2 separate regions of the Homo sapiens genome follow, and region 2 is linked to region 1. Evidence: promoter capture Hi-C in human tissues and cell types (Jung and others, 2019). All regions are on one chromosome and are shown on one strand. Each heading gives the region's core, a stretch centred on a gene start or on the middle of the fragment in contact. The rest is flanking DNA. Distances are from core to core; before and after follow the strand shown.

Evidence for each region. Contacts are between HindIII fragments. The study calls those that stand out against the background at their distance.
Region 2: a contact is called between the fragment with the promoter of CSRNP2 here and the fragment with the promoter of BCDIN3D in region 1, in 1 of the 25 tissues and cell types used here (IMR-90 fibroblasts).

Annotation. Positions count from the first base shown.
Region 1 is chr12:49,841,471-49,844,867 of GRCh38, reverse strand. BCDIN3D (BCDIN3 domain containing RNA methyltransferase) reads left to right here and starts at 1,762. Exons shown (of 2, transcript NM_181708.3): 1 at 1,762-2,014. The coding sequence starts at 1,781. RefSeq lists enhancers at 1,420-1,479, 2,050-2,419. The HindIII fragment of the contact is 12,873 bases long and covers 1-3,397 here.
Region 2 is chr12:51,082,260-51,085,336 of GRCh38, reverse strand. It overlaps CSRNP2 (cysteine and serine rich nuclear protein 2), which reads left to right and starts at 1,741. Exons shown (of 5, transcript NM_030809.3): 1 at 1,741-1,998. RefSeq lists an enhancer at 690-1,316 and a silencer at 1,690-2,179. The HindIII fragment of the contact is 9,557 bases long and covers 1-3,077 here.

The DNA of each region.
Region 1 (3,397 bases), core at 513-3,012:
AGTTCAGCTCAGCTCACCAAAATTTGTCAAAACGGTGCAGCTTTTTCTCCTTTTCTGTAATTGTGCAGAATACTGTGGTTTACTAAATTCCAGAGTGACTTTTATTAACTTGTGTCCTCAAATAAGTGAAACTAGAGAAACAGCAGGCCAGATAGAGATGAAAATATAAAGGCTGGGCGTGGTGGCTCTCGCCTGTAATCCCAACACTTTGGGAGGCCGAGGTGGGCAGATCACGAGGTCAGGAGTTCGAGACCAGCCTGGCCAACATAGTGAAACCCCGTCTCTACTAAAAAATACAAAAACTTAGCCAGGAATGGTGGCGGGTGCCTGTAATTCCAGCTACTTGGGAGGCTGAGGCAGGAGAATCACTTGAACCTGGGAGGCAAAGGTTGCAGTGAGCCGAGATCATGTCATTGCACTCCAGCCCAGGCAATAGTGTGAGACTCTATCTCAAAAAAAGGAGAAAAGAAAAAGAAAATATAAAGTAAAAACTGAGAGGAAAACAGCGCTTATTTTAACTCCTGATGGTACTGTTTGCAGGAGTCATGCTCCAGTGCCTTATAAGAAGTTTACCGAACTGCCAGCCTCATGGAGCAGGATACCCCTTTAAGATGGGTGGGCCAGGTGCAGGGGTGGGGTTGGGGGTCCTGCACAACTCTGCTGATGCTTGGTTGACCCTGACGGATATTCTGGGCCATCCTGGCTTTTGACTGGAACCTGCTACCTAGGTTGACCCTTCAGTTCCTCTCCTTATCAGCTCTGTTATTTCCAATCTCTGAGTCACATCTTGCCCAACTCCATTCCACTATGTCTGCTTCAGTTGGCATCCTTTCTCCCTTCCATTTAAAGTTTCCCCAAACAGATCTGGCCTTATTGTATTCTCTATTGAGTTTTCATTCAACAACATTTGTTGAGCATCTTTGTGCCAGGCCCATGTTAAGTATAGGAGACTCAAGGCTGAGAATAACACACCGTTGCAAGCACATCCTCTGGATCCAAACTCCCTGGGTTCGAATCCTAGTACCATCATTTCTAACTGTGGGATCTTGGACAAGTTACTTTGTTTTACTCCAGTGTCCTCATCTATATAAAAAGAATAATAATACGGTCATTTTCTCACGGGGTGAGAGGATTGACTAAGGAGCTTACAAGGGTGTCTGGTGCCTGGTAAGCACTCTTTAAGTGCTGGCTCTTAAGGCACGGTCCTTGCCTCTCAAGGAGCTCATGGTCTACAGTTGCCCCTGGGGGACAGGGCTGAGTCGGCTGGCTTCGCAAGTGACCTGCACCTCCTGGCTACCCTTTCCTGAACCGGGTGGAAGTTTTTGAGTCACAGATTCAATGTATGACCCCAGACAAGTAAGTTCTCTCGGTCTCACTTTTTGCATTTATAAAGAAAGGAAATTGGACTAAAATTGATTTCCAAGATCCCAACAAACTAGTATACTTGTTCTGGGTCAAGTAGCCCAAGTTTCAAACTATGTCAGCTTGGCCAAGACACTTAGCCCTCAGAGTTTGTTTCATCCCTGTAAAACGTGGATGATATTGCTAATCCCCTCCCAGTGTTGTGATGAGGGTTCAATAATACAAGGCAAGCCCCAGGCGCTCGCCGGCTCCAGGTATACAGCGAGAGGAAATCAGGACAGCTTTTCTGATTCACCGCAGAATTCTAGCCACCCGCCCTAGCCGTTCGACGCACGCGCGCTGGCACCGCCACCGCCCACGCCGACAGCAGGTTCCCGGCTTCCGGTTCCGCCACGGCCCAGAGGCTGTGTTGAGGCTAATGGCGGTGCCCACGGAACTGGATGGAGGGAGTGTTAAGGAGACCGCAGCGGAAGAGGAATCGCGAGTTCTGGCACCTGGCGCCGCCCCGTTCGGAAATTTTCCTCATTATTCTCGCTTCCACCCTCCGGAGCAACGGCTCCGCCTCCTGCCCCCGGAGCTGCTTCGACAGCTCTTTCCTGAGAGTCCCGAGAACGGGCCGATTCTGGGGCTCGACGTGGGGTGTAACTCCGGGGTGAGTGACAGGGGAGGGATTGGAGCATCCGGAGCCAAGTGGTTGGCTGCCTACACATCCACTGTGGTTCTGGCCTGGGCTAACACCCATCGAAACTTTCCCAAAACGAGTATAAAGCGTGGCTTTGACTGAGCCAGTGCCGCTGCTGCCTGCCCGCCAGGGTTCCACCATCTGTCTTAGGAATCTCTCTTGGAGAGGAGTCCTTGTCGACTACGTTCCCACTTTTCTTTCAGGGCCAGACCCCAGGTGGGAACGGTCCTTGTATCTAGGGTGGCCTCTGTCCAGCGTGCCTGGCGCTTTGGCTGGGGAGAGGGGGCTTCCAGAGACACACGTTTGGGAACATGGGGTTAGGTTTGGTTTACTGGGAGAGAAGAGCCAAGGGTGACAGAATCATGCCTGATATTGAGACTCATGTGTGCTATACAGTGCAGGACAGACCCTGGGACCTGCATGTTTATTTCAAAAAAAGTGAGTAGGCCGGGCGCGCTGGCTCACGCCTGTAATCCCAGCACTTTCGGAGGCCGAGGCGGGTGGATCACAAGGTCACGAGATCGAGACCATCCTGGCTAACACGGTGAAACCCCGTCTCTACTAAAAATACAAAAAATTAGCCGGTCGTGGTGGCGGGCGCCTGTAGTCCAGCTACTCCGGAGGCTGAGGCAGGAGAATGGCGTGAACCCGGGAGGCGGAGCTTGCAGTGAGCCGAGCTAGTGCCACTGCACTCCAGCCTGGGCGACAGAGCGAGACTCCGTCTCAAAAACAAAACAAAACAGTGAGTTGACAGAGTACAGTGGAGAGGATCGAGAAGCAAATAAAGCATTTTGCCCAAGGGAATGGAGAAGGGCGGCACTGCCACTCTTCTTGCTGCAAACTATTCTTAGGCATATGATTATAATCAAACCACATGCAAAATAAGGAAATGTCTCTCCCACACCTATTTGTAGCCACTGGGATATTCTACACTAGCAGGCAGTCTGAACTTACCACGGCAAATGCTTCAAAAGTTAGTACCCTCTCTGCGCTCCCTCCATCACTCCAGTCCAGCATCTGGAGGGCGGGGGACAATTCTGTTACGTTGCTGTCCTTTTACAGAAGAGACTTTGGGGGACGACTTCAGACCTTGTGGGACTCAGATGATAGTAGGAAGGGGACATTTGGATACAGTCTCAAAGACTGGAATGAGGAGATGGGTTGATGTCCTGTGTCCCCTGCAAAATTTCTCCGCTGTGATGATACGGGAAGTCAGAGGGTAAAAACAATGGAAAAGAGAGACTGAGGTTAAGGCTTGGGATTTCACGAAAGGCATTAGGAAACCACCAGAGATTTTAAAGTTGAGAGTAGTATACACATGAGAGGTAAAGACATAGTTGGCAGCTAACTAGG
Region 2 (3,077 bases), core at 492-2,991, 1.2 Mb before region 1:
AACTAAGGAGAAGCACCATTTTAGAAATATGGTTAGGCATTTGTGCCCGGGAGTTTGAGGCTGCTGTGAGCCGTGATTGCGCCACTGCACTCCAGCCTGGGTGACAGAGTGAAATCCTGTCTCTTAATGCAGGGAAAAAGAAATATGGTTAGGGAAGATCTCGGATATGGGGACATTCGAGCAGATATTATGTGAGGGAGTAAGTATGTGGCTAGCTGGTGGAAGCCAGACAAAAGGCCCTGAGGTAAGAGAATGATTGCCCAGTTGAAGGAGCTGCAATGAGGCCAGTGTATTCAAGCAGAGTATGGAAGGGGGAAAGTAGAAGCAAACAAGATGACAGAACAAAATGAGGGGGCGGGGTGGGGGTCGGGGGACAAGAGAATGCAGCTCGAGCTTGCCGAGCCTTATAGTTCAAGGGAAAGACAACAAAGAAGAAACCAAGGCTATGTGTCCTTGGCAAATCACATACAACTTTTGACTTCTTAATCTTGGTTTTCCCCTTTTTTTTCTTTTTCTTTTTCTTTTTTTTTTTGAGACGGAGTTTCGCTCTTGTTGACCGTGCTGGAGGGCAATGGTGCAGTCTTGGCTCACTGCAACCTCCGCCTCCCGGGTTCAAGCCATTCTCCTGGGTCGGCCTCCCGAGGAGCTGGGATTAAAGGCACGTGCTACCACCCTCGGCTAATTTTTGTATTTTTAGTAGAGACAGGGTTTCACCATGTTGGTCAGGCTGGTCTCGAACTCCTGACCTCATGACCCGCCCGCCTCGGCCTCCCAAAGTGCTGGGATTACAGGCATGAGCCACCGCGCCTGGCGCCCTTTCTTAAAAATAGGTTGCGGAAGGGCGCGGTGGCTCATGCGTATAATCCCAGCACTTTGGGAGGCCGAGGCGGGCGGATCGCCTGGGCCCAGGAGTGCAAGACCAGCCGGGGCAACATGGCGAAAACCCCTTTTCTATTTAAATAAATAAATTAGTTTGCAAAGTTGAGAAGATTTTTTTTTTTTTTTTTTTGAGACGGAGTCTCGCTCTTTCGCCCAGTCTGCAGTGCAGTGGCGCGATCTCGGCTCACTGCAAGCTCCGCCTCCCGGGTTCACGCCATTCTCCTGCCTCAGCCTCCCGAGTAGCTGGGACTACAGGCGCCCGCCACCACGCCCGGCTAATTTTTGTATTTTTTAGTAGAGACGGGGTTTCACCTTGTTAGCCAGGTTGGTCTCGATCTCCTGACCTCGTGATCCGCCCACCTCGGCCTCCCAAAGTGCTGGGATTACAGGCGTGAGCCACCGCGCCCGGCAGCAATTTTTTTTTTTTTAAAGAAAACACTCAAAGCACTCCCTCATATAAGTAGATAACTCAAGATATTGCTTGTATTCTTTATAACCTGCGCAGGCTGCAATAAGTCATATTGCTGAAGACTAAGACCCCATGAGCGAGGAGAAGGGGGGATCATGTTCCTAATGGCGTGTGGTCAGGACACGAAAGAAAAAGGGAGCTTTGGAGGAGAATTCGTTTATTTAAGATCTGTAGCTGAGTCTCCTCTCTTCCCCCATTAAAAGGTTGCAGCAGAGCTGCCGCCTCGGGAGCCGGTTTGCGCGCCGGCTTCGGCTTTGCAGCAGTTACCGCCTACAACTCCCGGCATGCTGCTGGGTGTGGGCCGGCCCGTAGACTCCATTTCCCAGCCAGCCCCGGGTCTCGGTCAGGACGTGCCGGCGCCTATAAGAGCCAGTGCGCTGCGGCCGGATCCTATTGTTAGCCGGAGCCGGGGCGGTTCTGGGCGTCTGCTGCCGGGGGCGCCCGAGTTGCCGGAGACGCCCGGCCCTCTCTGCCTGCCGGCTGGGCTGCCCACCGCCCTCCCTCCCCGCCCTGCCGCCCTGGGAGCTCCCCGGCCGTCGCCGCGGGGCCCGGGACTCGCTCGCTCCTCCCTCCTTCCCACCGGGCTAGGGCGGCGGCGGCAGCGGGGGCGGCAGAGACCATCACGGGAGGAGGCAGCTGCGGCGGGGCCGGTAATGGGCCTAGGGGTGCGGGGCGGAGGGTGCCGCCTCGTCCTTTCTCGGGATCGGCCCTCGGGCGGCCGTGGAGGAGTGGTCAAGCCCAGAGCCGTGCGGATGGAGGGGTCAGAAATGAGAGGCTCGGACGGGAGCGGTCGGGGGGCGGGGAGGTCGGGTGCCGTTGGGAAGGAACCGAGTCGGGAAGAGGCGTGGGAGCGAGGGGCACCGAGGACGCTGGCCCGGACTGCGGGGGCAGCTCGCGGGAGACCGATGGGCGGCTTGGAAGCCTGCAGGATTGCAGATGAGGATTGAGTTCGGAATGGAGTGGAGAATGATGTAGGATGGAGGAAAGTGAAGGAAGGGGAGGGGGAACAGAGGAAAATGTGGGAGGAGTGGTTGGGAATTTGTGAGTAGCAGGCAGGAAGGGATGCGGAAGGCTGGGTAGGGGCTGCAGAGGATTGGAATGAGCGGGAAGGTTAGCAGGAATCAGAGGGAAGTGGGCCGAGAGCTGAAGGGTTCGGCAGGAGTGTTCATTAAAAGGAACTGGTGACTTGACATGTCCCTTCGCTCCGGTTCCTGATGTCTCCCATATTTCTGGCGTCGTGTGGGAAAATGAAAGCATCAATTGCCCTGGTTGCTAGCTTGATCTTTTTTCATAGGCCCAATTACGCAGCCAACTGCCACCCGTCCCTTTTAGTGCTGTGGTCTTGATTCATCCTTTTAAAGGGGTTGAGAGTGGCAGTGTGACACACAAACTGTTCTTCAGAATGAAATGCTAGAAGTTATCCCCACAAGACAACACTGTCCCCTTGTCCTGCAGTTTTCAGTTCAAGGTAAATTCATAGTTCAGATTTTTTTCTTCACTGGCTTTCTGTCTTGCAAATCCACAAAGCCAGGATGTTGGTTGTGCCGGTGTTATAAATGACTGGATATCCTTGAGAGTTAATGCAGCATCATGTTCCAGTTCCCACAAAGATCTGTCTTCCACACGATGGTAGTTTAGGCATGGAAAATTCTAACCTTGTGTTAGTGAATGGGTAAAAATCGGGGAGTGGGGGTGGTGAGTGCACGGCTTTCTTTAAACACCTAACTTA